2 separate regions of the Homo sapiens genome follow, and region 2 is linked to region 1. The links are contacts of gene promoters, found by promoter capture Hi-C in blood cells and fetal thymus (Javierre and others, 2016). All regions are on one chromosome and are shown on one strand. The core of a region is centred on a gene start or on the middle of the fragment in contact, and the rest is flanking DNA. Distances in the headings are between cores, read along the strand shown.

What was found. Contacts are between HindIII fragments. The CHiCAGO score rates a contact against its expected background, and 5 or more counts as called.
Region 2: a contact is called between a fragment that was not itself captured here and the fragment with the promoter of EXOC8 in region 1, in 1 of 17 cell types (fetal thymus). The highest score is 6.0, in fetal thymus.

The regions. Positions count from the first base shown.
Region 1 is chr1:231,333,226-231,339,382 of GRCh38, reverse strand. EXOC8 (exocyst complex component 8) reads left to right here and starts at 1,531. Exons shown (of 1, transcript NM_175876.5): 1 at 1,531-6,157. The coding sequence starts at 1,638. The coding sequence ends at 3,815. SPRTN (SprT-like N-terminal domain) reads right to left here and starts at 1,090. Exons shown (of 5, transcript NM_032018.7): 1 at 779-1,090. The coding sequence starts at 999. RefSeq lists enhancers at 1-478, 877-1,076, 479-1,353, 1,657-1,716, 1,757-1,806 and 1 more and a silencer at 1,927-2,096. The HindIII fragment of the contact is 2,369 bases long and covers 1,285-3,653 here.
Region 2 is chr1:232,948,700-232,955,576 of GRCh38, reverse strand. NTPCR (nucleoside-triphosphatase, cancer-related) reads right to left here and starts at 4,966. Exons shown (of 5, transcript NM_032324.3): 1 at 4,833-4,966; 2 at 1-20. The coding sequence starts at 4,866. LOC107985361 (a long non-coding RNA gene) reads left to right here and starts at 4,028. Exons shown (of 2, transcript XR_001738525.2): 1 at 4,028-4,249; 2 at 4,421-6,877. RefSeq lists enhancers at 2,378-2,587, 2,523-3,022, 4,151-4,690, 4,691-5,232, 5,145-5,244. The HindIII fragment of the contact is 6,029 bases long and covers 1-4,264 here.

The sequences.
Region 1 (6,157 bases), core at 282-2,781:
AATCCTATTCTGCTACTCCCAGTCTCCTTCCGACAAGTTACAGTTCGGTGTTATTAACAAGCAGATATCTCCAGTAGCATATCTCCAAAATCATAACAGACGCCTGTATAAAGGAAATTGGTACTTTAAACACAATTTAATATCATATCTTAATTTGTTTGACAGTAGGTTGTTTTCTATCAACTCAAAAACAAGCATGCTGGGATACAACTGTATCTTAAACTTAACCCTGTTCACGTGCAGGAGTAGATTATTATTTCAAATAGGGATTTCTGAAATTTAGCGTGTAGAAAAAGAATCGTTTTAAAAGCATCACTGAAGATCCCCAATGCAACACACGAGCTAACTAAAGTGGGTTTCCTAACGGGAATAGAGGAGGAGAACACACATCCTTTGGCAGTTACTCTGCGTCCTCAGCACTTTCTTAGGTGCAGATTTGGTTGCTTCTCCCTTCTGGGTCCTACAGCACTATCATAAGGCAAATCAGGAACTTGTTATTTTCAAGTGAAGTGAGATTCAAATAAAAATCTCTTTTTTGTTACGGCCCTGAGTCCAACCGTGGCGGTGTGGTCTACACAGCTTTCTTATTGTTCGAGTGGGAGAAAAGGTAAGGAAGACAGAAACACGCCGAGGCAGGAATTGCCAGGTCCAAAACCAGACTCCCCTCATTTAACGCCCCCTGGGACCGTCGGACTAGAGAAAGGAGAGAAAACCAGGGCCGGGGGCTGCAGGAAAGCTGCCAGTCCCGCCTCTTTCCCCAGCGGGGCTCGGAACTCACAGGGTCATTCGCACGCTCCACTTCACCTCGACGGCCTCCAGCTGGCCCCAGAAGAATTGGTCGTTAAACTGAACAAACAGTGCCTGCAAGTCCGGTGTGGGGTCCACCAACTCCCACGACGCGTCCACTAGCGACAGGGACTCCTGGGCATGATCGCGCTCCGCCTCCTGCAAGTTCCACTCCTCCTGAAGCCGCAGTGCCAACATCAAGTCATCATCCATCGTTGCCAGGATCACAGGCGGGGTCCGCCGGCGTCAGGCTGGCTCCCCAGTTACGCCGCGACCCCAAGCCGCCTAGCCGAGGACCAGGACTAGCTCCTAGGAGATGCCGGCTCTCGAGACGGCCCGTCAATCCCGCGAGAGTTCGCGGAAACGCGCTTGAGAACGAGAACGGAGCTTACCCCAAACGCCGAAGCCAAGATTCTAGGGCTTTAAAAAAAGCAGTCAGCATGACACCTCCTAGTGGGCGCAGAACCTGGGCTCACAGGGCTCGGGCCCTACGAAGCTTTCAGGAAGCTAGTTTCAGCCTTTACTCTTTGCCGGTTATTTCAAACCTCAACGTCACGCTCGGTTCATGCGCAGTACCGAAATTTCTCTCGGCCTCTCCCTCCCCTCACTTCCGCAATAGCTCATCTTGCGCATGCGCTTTAACCGATGGCATTGCTGCGCAGGCGCAATGTCTGCGCTCGGCCCACTTGCGCAGGCGCAGTGTCTGACGCTCAGACCCGGCGCAGGCGTACTCGTCTCGTTCCCATTCCTGCTTCCTCAGCCCAGGAGCTCGGTTGGCCTTGGGTGGGTCTAGACAGCCGCGGCGGCTGCGGCGCCGATAGTGACAGTGAGTGCGTGAGACCCGGAGAGAAATGGCGATGGCGATGTCGGACAGTGGGGCGAGCCGCCTGCGTCGGCAGCTGGAGTCAGGGGGTTTTGAGGCGCGGCTGTACGTGAAGCAGCTCTCGCAGCAGTCGGATGGGGACCGGGACCTCCAGGAGCACCGGCAGCGCATCCAGGCGCTGGCGGAGGAGACGGCGCAGAACCTGAAGCGCAACGTCTACCAGAACTACCGGCAGTTCATAGAGACGGCCCGCGAGATCTCCTACCTGGAGAGCGAGATGTACCAGCTCAGCCATTTGCTGACCGAGCAGAAAAGCAGCCTGGAGAGCATCCCGCTTACGTTGCTGCCTGCCGCTGCTGCCGCCGGAGCCGCCGCCGCCTCTGGAGGGGAGGAGGGAGTCGGTGGGGCGGGGGGCCGAGACCACCTCCGAGGCCAGGCCGGCTTTTTCTCCACCCCCGGGGGTGCCTCCCGCGACGGCTCCGGTCCAGGCGAGGAAGGAAAGCAGCGCACTCTCACCACCCTGCTTGAGAAGGTGGAAGGCTGCAGGCATCTGCTGGAGACGCCGGGACAGTACTTGGTGTACAATGGGGACCTAGTGGAATACGATGCGGACCACATGGCCCAACTGCAGCGGGTGCACGGCTTTCTCATGAACGATTGCTTGTTGGTGGCTACCTGGCTGCCTCAGCGGCGTGGGATGTATCGCTACAACGCTCTCTATTCCCTAGATGGTTTGGCCGTAGTCAATGTCAAGGACAACCCGCCCATGAAGGACATGTTCAAGCTGCTTATGTTCCCCGAGAGCCGTATTTTCCAGGCCGAAAATGCTAAAATCAAACGAGAGTGGCTGGAAGTGCTGGAGGACACCAAGAGGGCCCTCAGTGAGAAAAGGCGAAGGGAGCAGGAGGAGGCAGCGGCCCCTCGAGGGCCACCCCAAGTGACTTCCAAGGCCACTAACCCATTTGAGGATGACGAAGAAGAAGAACCAGCTGTTCCTGAGGTAGAGGAAGAGAAGGTGGACCTCTCCATGGAATGGATCCAGGAGTTACCTGAAGACCTGGATGTCTGCATTGCGCAGAGAGACTTTGAAGGGGCGGTTGACCTGCTGGATAAATTGAACCATTACCTGGAAGATAAACCTAGCCCACCTCCTGTAAAAGAACTAAGGGCCAAAGTGGAGGAGCGAGTTCGACAGCTCACTGAGGTGCTAGTTTTCGAACTCTCCCCAGATCGTTCCCTGAGAGGTGGTCCGAAGGCTACTCGCAGAGCAGTTTCGCAACTGATCCGGCTGGGCCAGTGCACGAAGGCCTGTGAGCTATTTTTGAGAAACAGGGCAGCCGCTGTTCATACTGCAATTCGTCAGCTTCGCATCGAAGGTGCCACTTTACTCTATATTCATAAGCTGTGCCATGTCTTCTTTACCAGCCTTCTCGAGACTGCAAGAGAATTTGAGATCGATTTTGCAGGCACTGACAGCGGCTGCTACTCTGCCTTTGTGGTCTGGGCAAGATCAGCCATGGGCATGTTCGTGGATGCTTTTAGCAAGCAGGTGTTTGATAGTAAGGAGAGCCTCTCTACAGCAGCTGAGTGTGTAAAAGTGGCTAAGGAGCATTGCCAGCAACTGGGTGATATCGGACTGGATCTCACCTTCATCATCCATGCCCTTCTGGTGAAAGACATCCAAGGGGCCTTGCACAGTTACAAAGAAATCATCATTGAAGCCACTAAACATCGCAACTCTGAAGAGATGTGGAGGAGGATGAACTTGATGACGCCAGAAGCCCTGGGTAAGCTCAAAGAAGAGATGAAAAGTTGTGGGGTAAGTAACTTTGAGCAGTACACAGGGGATGACTGCTGGGTGAACCTAAGTTACACAGTGGTTGCTTTCACCAAACAGACCATGGGCTTCTTGGAAGAGGCCCTGAAGCTGTATTTCCCAGAGCTGCACATGGTACTTTTGGAGAGCCTGGTGGAAATCATTTTGGTTGCTGTTCAGCATGTGGATTATAGTCTTCGATGTGAGCAGGATCCAGAGAAGAAAGCTTTTATCAGACAGAATGCATCCTTTTTATATGAAACAGTCCTCCCTGTGGTGGAGAAAAGGTTTGAAGAAGGTGTGGGGAAACCTGCCAAGCAACTCCAAGATCTGAGGAATGCATCTAGACTTATTCGTGTGAATCCTGAAAGTACAACATCAGTGGTCTAATGCTTGGGTCTGTTTATATGTGTATATATGCAGAGAGAGAGCTTATATATTATTTATATTTATATTAAGTTGTATTAGCATACTCTATAGTTTCAAACACAACTTGAAAATTAAAAGTGCCCTCTTAAAAATACAAAAATCAAAAAGAGGAAAATAAGTTAAATTAAGCCCAAGTAACAAAAATACTGGAATTATTAAAACGTATAGTATGCTAGCTATCCTTTTAAATTATGCTAATTCTCTTCTTCTGAAATTATGGTCACACTATATACTATAGCATTTCGGTTTTATCCTTTGATAAAACTTTTCTTTTTTCTTTTTTTTTTTTGAGACAGGGTCTCACCCCGTCGCACAGGCTGGAGTGCAGTGGCAAAGTCTCGACTCACTGCAGCCTTGACCTCCCGGGCCCAGGTAGTCCTCCCACCTCAGCCTCCCATGTAGCAGGAACCACAGGCAGGCACCACCATACCCAGCTAATTTTTGTATTTTTTGTAGAGATGGGGTTTCGCCATGTTGCCCAGGCTAGTCTTTTCTTTCTTCTTTTTTTTTTTCCCCACAGTATATATTATACAGCAGTCATAATATCTATAAATACATAGAGTTTATGTTGTGAAGTTTCCCAGTTCACTGAAATGTTAGGTTTCCTAAAGGGTACAGTGCCGTATAAAACAACCTGCCTCATATATTTCTCCTCAAAACGTTGGACTATTTGGGAAAAGGAAAAGAGTTGGGAAAATTGGTTTTAAGGTAAGTTTTAGTCAAAAGAATTCTTTCTTGAAACTAGCTGGTTTGTGGATTCAGATACTCTGATCCTTACAGAATCCAAGAGGAAGCTTTCATAAAAACAATTCAGCAAATATTTCCAATATAATTTGAATGGCTAATTTTCAGTTGCTAATTAATTAGCAGCTTTGTAATACTTGATTTGGGAGCATTTACTTGGAAATCCTAAGGACTATAATAAAAGTTTTCAACATATTTCTAAATTGTGTGAGTTTCCAGCTGTAGCTTTTGTCTTTGTCACATTTTAAAAAATAATAAGCAAGACACATTGGGGACACTGGCAGCAGTTGCCAGGTTTTAGCTGCCACCGCTTCAGTATGAGATATAGCTGTCCCATCTTCCCCCATTCAGGGTAGGAGATATAGTGACCCAGACTTCATGCAAATGGAAAAAAAGTTTTAACTGAAATATTTATTTAGATTTCAGGGTCTAGATGGATGGGAAAGTAGAAAAACATATGCAAATCTCAGTGTTCTCACTATGACCACTCTGAGCAGAGATTTGGTTTTGTTTCCTTTTGTAACAAAGTGAAAACAGGTGAGACAATGTGCCCAAAACAAAGGGAAGAAGAGAACCTTCTGTGACTCCTAAAATGTTCCATGCTGCATTTTTGTTTCATTTTTTATTTTTCCTTGCTTTGTTTTTAAACATGAATATAATGCTTACTTCAAATTGTTTAGTAAAACAAAATAACTAAAGAAATGTGAGCTTCCCAAGGTTTCTAAACTATCGCTGTTGTATATTCTATAGCGTTCCTTATTCTTTGAGGGAAACTGTGCTTGCTGTGATCCATTTTGTCTCTAGCTTCTAGTTGTGATTCTTGTCCATAAGCACCAAATTTGATGCCCATGATTTCAAAAGGTCATTTCTTTTATCTGAATGAAAATGGTGGTACTAAGACTGTGAAAATTATGTGAAACCTAAAGTAGTTGCCAAAGTGGCTCAGGGTTGTAAAATTCATTGACTTAATTATTCATGTGCCAGATCAACCCCTTTATTTTCTCTTTAGCTGTGCATATTTAAAATATTGGAAAGTATCAGATTTACAGATTTTCTTTGACTAATTTTTTTCACATAACTTTAGGATTTTCGAAAGTTGTAACCATAACTGGATATCTTAGCTGAGCAAAGGCGGTTATAATTTGTCTTTTTAAGATCACTGGAAATTGATAAAATTTTGTGATAATTATGATTATTCTGTGCCATTTACAGTTTCTAATACTATACTGTATGAAATATGTATAAATATATGATGCTGAGTCTGTGGAATGATACTTCTGAAATCAAAATTCCTCATAAGGCATGAAGTTGTAAAAACTTGAATGTGTATAGTTAGATATTTAAATGGTTGCTTCTTCATAGAATTGTCTGCTTTTTAAAACTGGAAGTACAGGATTTTCTTCAGGTAAAATCTGTGTGTTCCAATTACAGTTGTAGCTGAAGGAAGTATGCTTTGGTGAGTCAATTAGTATGGGAACTTGACTAAAGACCCCCAGTGTTGTAACGTACCTTTGTACCCAGACAAAACAATTATGTTACATTCCTCAAAGTGGCATGGG
Region 2 (6,877 bases), core at 1-2,500, 1.6 Mb before region 1:
CAATGTTGTTTTTCCAACTCCTAAAATAAAAAAAAAAAAAAAAAAAGAAGAAAAGCCCATTAGGAAACATTCCCTTACTAGAGCACACACAGCACTTGTGGACTCTGAGGCAGCAATTATGGTGGGTAGAGAAATGGGCTGTAAATGGATTTATGAATATGAACTTCAATTTAATTTTGATTGCTCCAGGTGCTAAAAATGCTTAATTTCAAGTAGAAACAAGCATAATAAAAACACGAATGATATCTTGAGGTTTATTTTTAAATTGTGAAACATTGTTAATTTTGTCACGTACACAATCCCAGAATCAACTGAGAGGTTCCTGATGATATTCTCCCATGCCATTTGCATCCTGTGAAATGGTTTACAGTTCCCATTTTTCTGCCCAGGAAGTAACACTGGTCACACTTGAGTCAGGGGCTGGGAATTTAAGATTTCAGCTTTCAAGAGATTACAAACGGACCTACACTTAACAGTGGGAAAATCACTTTGTTCCTCCTTTGACTTACATTGTTGTAACTCCTGAAAATGTGTCTCTTAAATATCATTAGCATCCCTGTTAATGGTCACTTTCAAACTTTTTCATAACAGCAAGCCTATCAGGTTAGCAACTCCTTCCAACATCATCTTCTCCAGGGTCTCTAAGCATTTCTTCACCTTTATCCCCCACACCTTCCCCAGTTTGAACCTATGTACCTCTGCCCCCTCAGCCTCCCCACCTTGATCCTTCCTGTCCATCCAGCCTGGTCAGCTGACTACTCTGATGAACTCACTGGTTTGTAAGCACCAACAGGTGCTACCTAATATAGTAATACTCATCACTGACGTCATGGAGCCAGACACTGTTCTAGCACACTTTGGAAGCATTTTCTTGGTTAAGTCCTCACAACCATCCTCTGAGGCAATTACCATCCTTATGCATATTTTACAGATGGAGAAACTGAGGTACATGGTGGTTAGGTATTTTACCCAAGGCTATACCCCTCATAAGGTCCATACCTTTCAACAGGGGACTTTACCTGTCACCATGACTTTTTAAAATATGAGCCTTGTTCCCAATATGGATTTAAGTAAGTGGCATCATGACTACCCAACAATGGAAAGAGAGAGAAAACTCCTAGCATGTCTGCAAGTGAGCTATTTTGAGATACTACAGAGTTGCAAATCATGCTATTTCTAAGACTACCCACTCTTTTAAGCCTCCTTGACATAAAATATGATCCATTATTCTTATTTAATGTATCTATCTTCACACTTCACATTAAAATAATGGCACCTGGCTTTCTGGAACATGAACAGCAACACAACAGGATTCTGGCTACAGTAAGCCACAGTGAGCATGCAGCTGGTAGAACTGTGTAGAACATAAAATGATGACATTCTAATCCAGCCCTGGCCATCAGTAACAACTGCTTTAGGAAAGTCACTAAAGAATCTGTTTCATGCAAGTAATGGCATTGCCGAATGTGTAAGCTGCTACTTCTTTTCTGAAGGGCAATTTCAATGCGCCTGCCACAGCACCCTGTAGTTCATGACTAGGAATTCATCCTCAGGAAACATCAACAATACAAATGTGTGAAAGAGGACATTCACTGCAACATTCTTTATAATAGCAAAACACTGAAAACAACCTAAATGTTGATTGTAAGGGAATGTTAACTCATGGCACCATGTATATAATAGCACATAAATACACAGAAATACCATGCAACCATTAAAAAATATACTGCTTATATGTATTTATTAGCATGGAAAATAGACCACAATGTATGAAAATAATATATGGAAAAAGCAGGTTAATAGCAGAAACCATTCCATTATGTTTTTTTTAAAGAATGGTCAAGTACGTGTCTACAGAAAAAAAAAATGTCAAGAAGAATACAGAACAAAGATTTACAATGTTGATTTCTGATGTTCAAATTCCCTGTGATTGTCACTTTCTTCCTTAAACTTTTCTTGTTTTTTTTAATTCTTATACTGAATGGGTCTTACTCTTATCCTAACAAAAATTGCCGTTTATATTTTGAAAAAGATAAAATGGAGCAACGGTAACTATTCCTGTTCACAAAGGGTATACTGTGGGGACTGTATGTTGTGTAGAACATAGTAGAGCAATAAATAGGAAGCATTTGGGCAAAGTCCCTTTTGGCTTCTTCAGCTCTAGGAATCTTCTTTCAGTTAATTTTTTCTTCATTAGTTAAGCTGCTACCCCAATGCTGTCTGGATAAGAAATGACCTCTGCTTCAGGAGACCTCGAGATGATAGCTGTATACCAGGCACAAACAGATCAGAAAGCTCTGGAATTATTTTGGTTCTGGTTCTCCCCTAAGCAGATCCTCAGATAAAGATTCAAGTGCAGGTAGTTTAACCTGGGCAGTGACAACATGATGGACTGGCAGGGAAGAAATTCAGAAAGGGAAGGGAAGGACACCAGCATGAGGTGCACTGTCAAGCAAGTTCCACTGGGGGCAGCTGGAGCTTCAACCCCCTGGGGAATCCTAAGGGACAAGTCAGGGCAAGTGGCTCAGTTATCCTGTCTGAGGAGTGAGAAAGTAGGGAATTTATCAACTAACTTTCACCAATCACAGGTTGAAGGCTAATCCCAGGGCACAGGAATTCCCTGGCTCTTCTGGCCTGCTCTGTTTGCAGGCCAAGTGGGCTCCAGGGACCAGAGAAAGCCCTCCAAGATGAGTCATGGGTACAGACAGTTGGAAATCGGAAAAAATGCTAAGTGCCAGGGGCACTAAGAGGATATGCAACAAAAAGTGACCTCTTTGAGAGGAGACTTTACCTGATGGTCTGAACATATTGAGAAAACAGAAAGAAACTAGGCAAATAAAAACACCTGACAATAACTCCTAATGGGGAAAAAAGTTATGTGTAAAAGGAAAAAAAAAAAATTAGAGGGCATGGTGGTGCATGCCTGTAGTACTAGCTACTAGGGAGGCTGAGGTGGGAAGATGGTTTGAGCCTGGAAGGTGGAGGTTGCAGTGAGCCAAGATTGTGCCACTGCACTCCAACCTGGGCAACAGAGAGAGGCCCTGTCTCAATAAGAAGAGGGAAAAAAAAGATGGGTAAGGTGGCTCACACTTATAATCCCAGTATTTTGGGAGGCCCAGATGGGAGGATCACTTGAGGCTAGGAGTTGGAGATCAGCCTGGGCAACATAACAAGAGACAGGTCTCTACAAAAAAAAAAAAATACCCGGGTGTGGTGGCATGCGCTTGTAGATCCAGCTATTCAGGAGGTTGAAGTGGGAGGATCACTTAAGCCCAGGAGTTTGAGAATGCAGTGAGCTATAACTGTTTCACTGCACTCCAGCCTGGGTGACAAAGCAAGATCCTGTCTCTAAAATAAATAAATAAATGGAAAAGAAATCATAGATTACTATGTGGCTCTGTTGTGATTGTCTTTACATGGCCATAATACTGTAAACATTGACTAATGAAAATTACGCTGTAACTACATTAAGAAGAGAAGGAGAAAAGACAAAGGTGCGTGGGTTTGAGGACAGGTTTAAGAGAGCTACACTGTAGAATTATTTGAGTCTTTCAACTACGTGTAGGTAAGACTTTGATAAAGCAGAAACAAGAACCACCATCAATACAATCACGGTAACAGGACACCTCCATTAATAAAACACACAGTTGTCTTGGGGTCAGCCTGCTGAGTATCAAACTGCATTCCAAGTTTCAAATAAAGGATTGACAAACCAACTTTCAGAAAACAGTTCTTTGCAATACTTAGGAGTGACTTTAGATAGCAGGCATTTCTCAAACCACCCTCCTCCTCCTCACCCCCTGCTCCCCAACTCCCCCATCCAATGCCTGACAAAATCCCAAAGTCTGCAATATTAGCTGTAGCCTTTGCTACTTACAACTAAACATAATCATTAAAATAAAGTGAAAGAGAATTCTAGATCCAGGGTTACAGCCTTTGATATCTGAACCCACACTAAACTTCAAAATTAGATTTGCCTTGCAAAGGAGCTGAAGAAATCACTTTCTCCACTCTTAGCCCATCTATCTTTTTTTAGCCTATCTGATGCAGCCTACCTGTCCTTTTTAGTAATGCTTGATACATGGGTAGCGCCTTGGTTTAAAAGCACCTCCTCCTACACCTCTCATCTGACCTCAACGCTATCCTGCTTCTCAGATGAGAACTCCACAGGCCACAGGGTTGAGGGATCTGACAGACATCAGGAGGGGACAGCGACAGGAACAAGCAAGAGTGTCTGAGAAGGGCTCCTGTAGGTACCAAAGCTTCTCCACCTCTGGCCTCAGCTGTGGAGGGAATTCGTGGGGATGGAGATGGGGATGGGGGTGGGGGGATGAACTTAGATGGGAAAGAAAGGTTACAACTTCAGTTTCGCTGTCCTCCAACTAAAATTTACCATTTTTTTTTTGCACGATCAATGTAGCAAAGACCCACAGTAAGGAAATACCTGTGACTATCAACAGAAATTAGACATCTCCACTTCACATCGCGGTTGCCGCAGATCTCTTGAAATACCATTTGTGCAGACCACAACGTCAACACTACAGTAGGAGTTACCGCTGCCGCTGGCCCCTGCGGTTTCTGCCCTTCATCAAGAAGCCAGTCTAGGACCCCCTCACAAGTGTGTTCTAATCCTTTAGGCCCTGTGTCTTTTAAATCACGTTTTCCGGGAAGGAGTACAAACTCTTCAGACTACCAAGCCCGCCATTTAAATTGGGAACTTCAGAGGCCGGAGCCCTGGAGCCGGAGACCCTCCCCGACAGCACAAGGTCGCCCGCAGCCCGCGCGCCCCCACCCCCTCGACCTCTTGGAGGTGGGGATCCCCTCAGGGTTACCTGGGGGCCCCGTTAGGAACACGTGCCGGGCCATACTGGTGGGCGGGGGTAGGGGTTGCGGTCAGGGGAGCAGTCCAGGTTGGGGTCGCAATTCAGGTCAGGTCCGGACCAGGGTCGCGACTCAGGACCCGCCCACCGCGTGTCGCAGGCCCCGCCCCCAAGCGGTGCTTTGACCGGAAGCACCGCCCTCAAGACCACGCATGCGCCTTCTCCCGAGTCCCCGGTCCGCGCCTGCGCATTCAGCCCTCGGCATTGGCGCCTGTGCCGCGGCAGTTCCTATAGGCGGAGCGGGTTGTACGGTCTCTTAAGTTTCATTCTGGGTTCAGGGCTTTTGTGGGGTATTTGCAGAGATAAGTGCGTGAGAACGTCAGTTATTAAACTATTGCTGCTTCAAGTCAGCGCCATCACCCAAGTTCTGCCCCTTGACTCCGGACCTAGGAGCTGAAATTGCCCAAGGCTGCCGGGACAGCCCTTTTGTAGAAGGTTTGTGACCTGGAAGCATTCCTCAAAGGGGGATGCCATGTTAATGACTCCAACTTTGTTCTCAAACATTCCTGCAGAATAGAATCAGCTGGGGAGTTTTAAACTTGCTCTGATGCCTGGGTTTCACCTGCAGTAATAGGGAGTGTCAGAAGACAAAATTACAAGTTTAGTTTAAAGATCTAATTGGCTTATATTTAGGATCTAGAATCGAGAAATAGATCATTTCATAAAGCAAATAGAGTGTTCCAATGAGTTGTGCAGAGGAGGTTGGCTTTATGGGCAAAAAAAGGCTGAAGAACAAAACAAAGAGTGGGTATTTCAAAGTTACTTTCCTTATAGGGTTAAAACAGATTGGACTTCGTTATTGTACTGACTCAGGTTAACTACAATCTCCTGTTTTTTGGGAAAACGGGCCTGTTTCAAAGTTCAGTTTGGTTACATGGCACTTGGCACAAGTGACTCCATTCTGGTTTGGTCTAGTCTGCTAGGACCTAGTGCAGGAGGTTAGTCCAAAACAATGGCCTCCCATAAATCTTGTTTAACATGAGTAATTGGTCTTGAGCGAGTCTTGAGCACCTGTATTCTTTTTTCTTCTTTCTAAACTCCAGGAAGTTCCTGAAGTGCGCTAGGGTTGAGAACCACTGGTGTAGGCAGGCTTCCCGTCCTCAGCCATGCATAGGACGCCCAGTTTTCCCTCTTTACTTTCACACCAAAGTGTATAAAGATCTCCTCTTGCAAAGAATTAAATAGCTTCTCCGTCTCACTTTACCACTGCAAGTGTTCCGGCCAACGAATGACGTGGCAGTGGCCTTGGGCCACATTTACCTGTAAACTCTTTCAGTCTAACATGTGTACAGCTTAATTTGTAGTCAGTCGTTCCCCATCCTGGCTGAGAAAGCAGTTCAGTGAGTGCTCAACTTAATTGGTTTCTGCCCACACATGGACCTCTTGGTTTCCCTTTAGCCTGAGACATATGCCAGTCCAATGATTATCTAAAAAAACAAAGTTGGATTTGTAAAATATAGCTGTCATCACCATCATTTCTGCAACATTTGTAATGCTCTATTATTATAACAGTATACTATTTATTATCCCAACTGTTAATGTAGGGCCTTCCACCTTGATTTATTTTGCAGTCCATATATGTTGAATACAGTGAAAAGTTGATATAGTAAAGTAAATTCATAGGAGGAGCTTCCAAAAAAAAGGAAAAAAGTATATGTATCTCTTGTATCAAAAGTACTCGTTTTAAATGTTAATCAGATAGCATTTTCCATCACTGAAAAGCAGTTTGGATTTGCAAGGCTCACCGGAAGTTGGGTTCTTTTGTTTTGTTGCTGTGCCTGGAATTCTGGCATCAGTTTAAGTAGCTCAAAGATACATGGAATTCAGATATGGTGAATCAACGTCTCACAAAACAGAAAAAAAGACTCCATAGTTGAATGTACTTTATCCATGGAAAATGAATTATTTGGATGGTAGTTCCACGGATATCTTCTTGTTAGAAAATTCATTGATTTGATGCTTAATTTCTACAGTTTCCTGTATGTGTTATTAGGTAA